Linked DNA regions of Homo sapiens: region 1 is linked to region 2. The links are contacts of gene promoters, found by promoter capture Hi-C in human tissues and cell types (Jung and others, 2019). All regions are on one chromosome and are shown on one strand. The core of a region is centred on a gene start or on the middle of the fragment in contact, and the rest is flanking DNA. Distances in the headings are between cores, read along the strand shown. Region 1 has its middle 62 kb from the start of SEM1. Region 2 holds the start of DLX5 (distal-less homeobox 5).

The links. Contacts are between HindIII fragments. The study calls those that stand out against the background at their distance.
Region 1: a fragment that was not itself captured here is called in contact with the fragment with the promoter of DLX5 in region 2 in 1 of the 25 tissues and cell types used here (H1 embryonic stem cells).

What each region holds. Positions count from the first base shown.
Region 1 is chr7:96,770,839-96,773,538 of GRCh38, forward strand. No RefSeq gene overlaps it. Among named protein-coding and RNA genes, the nearest start is that of SEM1, 62 kb to the left of the region's middle. The HindIII fragment of the contact is 5,784 bases long and covers 1-2,700 here.
Region 2 is chr7:97,023,519-97,026,218 of GRCh38, forward strand. It overlaps DLX5 (distal-less homeobox 5), which reads right to left and starts at 1,313. Exons shown (of 3, transcript NM_005221.6): 1 at 751-1,313. The coding sequence starts at 1,105. RefSeq lists enhancers at 819-1,535, 2,462-2,700. The HindIII fragment of the contact is 6,057 bases long and covers 1-2,700 here.

The DNA of each region.
Region 1 (2,700 bases), core at 26-2,525, 250 kb before region 2:
CCATTCTTTCTTTTCCTCTTACATGATTTCAAGAGCTGTCTGGCGGTCAGACTGTTGAATTGAATTCAAGGATGCTTTCAGATTCGTGCCATGAAACAGGCAATTCACCTTATCTCCATAAGGCACATTACTGTCCCCCAGTGAATGACATCTGACAGAAACAGTAAAGAGTGACTTATCTAGAATCTAGCAAGCATTTCTTTTCCCAGGATGGGCTGAGAAAGGGATGTTAAAAGGAAGGCATGGCACGTAAATCTTGTGTAACCACAATGAGTACATTGTAAGTCAGCCCACATCAACCATTGTGGCTGGAAAACCTATACTATGGCACCTGTCCTTGCAGAACTGAAAATAGTGAAATTCCATTTCAACCGAAATCAAATAAAAAGTCCAATCGGCTGGATGTTCCAAAGACAGAGCCCCCTGTAGGTTTATTCATGGGGAAGATGCAGCCCCTGAAACTATGCATGAGACCAGAGTACATTTCTGTTGGGAGACCTTGTTGCTGAGTCTGGTGGGACCACGGAACCAGAGTTGCTACCAGGCATTCACTGTGGGGTAAAATAGGGTCCCAAGTTTTCCATTCAGTTATGGATGCAGTCTCTCAGAAATGCCTGTAAAAGTGCTATTGGCTGCTATTTTCTGCTGGAAACAGATTGAAACCTCAGTGTAAGTAAATAATCTCATTCTGAGGCAAAGAAAGACTTTCTAGTCCTCAGTGTGGGGCTTGTTTTAGAGTTTCACATGGAGTCATAAGGTGGGTATAACTGGGAATCAGTTCCAGATTTCCACTGGATTCTGTATACTGAAAATTGCAACATCAATGGACAATAAATTAGTTCACAGCTACTCTGGGTTTGATGCGTGGGAAATGTCATCACAATGGTTGTCTCCCAATTTATAAACCAGTAGAAATTTTTTTTTCTTGGAAAATTGGACACATATGTGGCTATGATTAGCCTCATGTTTATTTTTCATTTCTAAAAAGTATGAGTAAATGTCTACTACATTCGGTGCCCTGTGTGCCAGCATCAGTGGAGAATGGGTTTGGGCAGGGTTAATACTGTTTTTAAAAAATGATTATTAAAAATATTTATTGGGTAAAAATTTAAAACTAAAACTTGTCCTGAAGTTGAATATCCAACCTAAAATCAAATCCACCACGGCTTCATTGTGGTTAGAGGTGCTAATCAAAGATTAAGTGGATTTGCTTTATTGGGGATCCCCAGTTACCACCAAAGCACCTGTAATCTCTGAATTGTGGCCCTTTCTTGTAAAGCAATTCATTTGGTTCTTTCACATTTTTCCCCTTCAACCTCAACAGATTCCTGTGGCTTTTGTGTTATTTTTTCATCGCTCTGATTGAATAATTATTCCCATCCCATCTTGCTCATCTCCTTCTGCATCATATCTTTTGTTGCAGATTTAAACTTGCATGCACTCCCTCTTGTCTCTTCCCTAGTAAGTCCGCCCAGGAATGATTCTGCATGTGAATAGAAGGTGTTGACTGTTCAATATGTTTTGCATGTACTGTCAGCGGCTTTATTACTGCCTCTTTCCAGATCTTTGCCACTAAGAAGCATGAAGATGTTCATTTCAATAACTAGGCTCCTGTCATGTCACAATGGAATGGATGCCTGGGATCGTGTGGATGCTTTGAGTCATAATGAAGGTCGTGTCTAACTTGTGTCAGCAGCAAAGTGGCAAAGAATACAGAAATACCCTCATCAGAGGATATAGCAAAAGCATCCTCAGAGTGGAAGGAACCATTTTCCCAGAAACACCAGTCTTACTAATTTCTAGTGCCCAGCGGCTTGTAATCACAGTGAATGAACATGAAGTTTAAGATGGTGTAGGTGTCATTCAAAGAATGCTGAAGAGTCAAGATACATTCTCAATCAAAATGCAAGCACAAACTGAACTAATCTCTGAAGCCATTGTAGTATCCTCTTCTCTGCTAGATGTCCATCAATATCATAAATATGGCTGCTCTGGACCTATCTCAGTTTTGGATCCTATGAAAATTATTGAAATATATAACCATTCAAAAGAGAGAGTTGAACATTATGACAAGAAAGGATGTTTCTGCTATCTTGTTAAAGGTAGATACATTGTGTATTTATCATTTTGTTACACATATGCTAGACACACACAAACAGGGAACAAAGAATAAAATTCTATACATCAAAATATTAGCTGGGGATATCTCTGAGTGCTAAGATTACAGAAGAATGATATTTTTCCTTATGGTCATCTTTATTTCCACAGTGAATGAAAACAATGAATGTCATAGATTCTAAATTAAACCACAAGCAATTCAACTTCATATATAAAGGGCCCCCAAGGGGATAGGATCTAGATTAGAAACAAACACAACAGAAAGTCCATGTTACCATTATACGATTTCAAAAAGAGTAACTTAGGTGTTTTCATAATGATTTAGTGGTTCTAAAGCTGAAAACAAGTTATGATAGGTTCCAAATTAGTTTAGTTTTCACGGAGACTTTCAGTGTTCCCATTCACTGTTCCAATGTGTGTTTTGCTCATGTCTAATACTATTTTCAGATGGTTTGGGAGGAGAAAACAAAGATTTTGAAAGGCAGTGTCATCACATTTTATAATCATATTTGGAAAATAGCAATATTTTATTGTGCCCTTCTTTTAATATATATGTAGATGCCTTTCTTTTGGTATATTAAA
Region 2 (2,700 bases), core at 63-2,562:
CCTTTCTCTTACCGCCCAAGCTCACTAACCCTCTTAAACTCTCTAAGTAAGTTTCAAAGCGGACGAAAAAGGAGGACGGAAAGACAAATTGTGGGCGCCTATGGAGACAGAAAAAAAAATCTATCCTACAACGTGACCCCTCAGCAACCCTCCTCCACCTTTAAATGGCTTTTTGTTTTTGGAAATGCCTGGATAAACCGCAAAACTCTCGGCGCGCTCTTCTCTGGCTGGCTACAACTCCTTAACCCCCCCACCCCCACCCAGCGTGCTCAGGGCACCCGCACCGTGCTAGCTTGTGGCGGCTCTCAAACTAATCCTGACTGAGTTTTTGAGGCAGCCTTCTATTCCCACTCGCACCAACCCAGCACGCTTACCAAAATTCCCAAGTAACCTTCTCTTTGTTACGCAAACGCCAGGAGCTGCTTGATTCTTTCTTCTCTCCACCCCTATCCCCTTTCCAGCCTAGCCGGCTTCCTGGCCGGGCAAGCTGGGAATTCAGCGACTGAAGGGCCTTGGAAGGTGCCGGAGGGGAGAGACGCTAGTTCGAACCTCCACAGGGCTCTCCTACTAAAAATCCCTAAAATGCTGGCCCGAGAAACTCTCTTTGTTGGAGGGTCTGAGTCCTACTCCCTTCTGCCGCGTGCGCCCCCACTGCCGTGAACCGCTGTGACCCCCAATCTACCACCCCATCTCGCGCCCCCAGCGTCCTAGTCGCCCTGTATCTGCCCAGCCTTCCCCCTGTCCATGTACCTGGCTGGTTGGTGGCGCTTGGGACGCGGTTGTAGGCGCCGCCGTACTGGTGGTAGGAGCTAGCGTAGCTATAGTCGGCATAAGCTTTGGCTGGGTAGCTCCCGGCGGAGCCGTTCACGCCGTGATACTGATACTGGTAGGGGTTGAGAGCTTTGCCATAGGAAGCCGAGGTAGGAGAGCAGTAGCCGTGCGGGGCTCCCCCCGTAGGGCTGTAGTAGTCAGAATCGGTAGCTGAAGACTCGGGCAAAGTTGGCGATTCCTGAGACGGATGGTGCATAGCTGCGGACGTCTGGAACGGAGCTTGGAAGTCGCCGGATCGGATGCTGGGGACCCTTCTGTCAAACACTCCTGTCATCGCTCACGGGCGGCGGCAGCGGCTGTCCTTGCTGTTGTGGCGGCGGCAGCTGCCCTAGTTGGCTGTGGGGCTGCTCTGGTCTAAGCAGACATGGCTGTGGGAGCGAGGGAGGAGGAGGAAGAGGAGGAGGAGAGAAGGAGGAGGCGGCGGCCGCGGCGAGGAGGAGACTGGGAGTCGTGAAGTCTCTGTCTCCGGCCGGCTGACTGCTGGCTGAGGCGCAGCACAGCCTTGGTTAAATCCTTAATTGCGCGCTTACGCACAGCGGGGTGGATCTGGTTCTATTGGCCAGGGCCTCGGGAGCAACAGTAACACCCTAACTCGTCCAACTAGTTTTAGCACAACAAAGCATTGCTTAAAAAGGGGGTGGGGGGTACTGAGGGGGTGTGTGTGTTTGTGTGTGTGCGCGCCCGCGCGCTTGTGTGTGTTTTTGCTTGTTGTGGAGTGGGGAGGGGTCTTAGTCTATCTGTTTTTAGTAAATTCCAAAGACATCGCAGAAGCCACAGCACAAGGCTCTGTGATGTCTGGGGACAATGTGTTCCAATCAGAAGCCTCAAAAGTGCACATGTTTTGGGAATGAGGTGGGCGACCATCTTTCCTTGCTTCCCACTACCCCGCCCCCGTGGGCTGCACCAAAGGCGAGTGTAGAATTAAACACTGATACTGAAATAGGGAGTCAAGGTGCAGGGAGTGGGGAGCGGGGGGATGTAGGATGGAGGCAAGAAGGAAGGGAAACAGCATTTTTTTTTTTTTTAGTGGAGTGTTGGGAAGCAAGTTGTAACTTACATGTTTTGAAAATTTGCTCTTTGGGGAAAGAGGCAACTTCCTTTGCAGGAGATGAGTATCTCCCGGACGCGGGCTGGACAGGAATGCCCAAGAAGGCACAATGTCCATTAAGCCGGTGAATGGCAGGGAGAGTTCCTGCAGCCCAAAGTCCTTATAATGACTTTTAAAAATTACTGTCTTAAACACATATAACTTAAGGAAGCCCAAATCCTCGTTGCTGGCTTGCAAAAAGAGCCAAACAGCTCCACTTCTGTTTAATATTTTCATCTATTTTCAAGACATTGGAATAAAGGCTCTTTAACTATGTTCAGTGGCCAAAGACTCCCGCAAAGGTGAATGGATCCATGTATAACCTGCCATACCTCCAGGAAAGAATGGGAAAGTCTCGGAAGTGGGGAAGGAGACAAGGATCAAAGCCTTTGCAAAGTCAGATGATGCTCATTGATTTCCCCCTCCTGGCTCCATGAATGTGGCCCAGTCTCTCCATTTCCCAGACCCGGGTTTCTGTACCCTCTCCCCTTTATTTCCTGCTGCAAAGACATCCTACTTAGCTCGTATGCAAGGGAAGAAAGGATTCAAGAATCATTCAGTTGATACACGAGATCTAAACTTTGCTCTTCAGGAGGTGCTATCCTTGTTCTAGTCGTGATTCAGCTGGGAGTTTAGAAATTCAGCATAAAAGTCTCTCCCAATCCCCATTGTTACTCCCCTCAAATAGGCAACTCCGCGGACTAGATCCTGATTTGGGGCCTTCCTACATCTTCCTTTACGGGGTCCAAGACCGGCAATCTGGGAGTTCCACAGGCTATCTA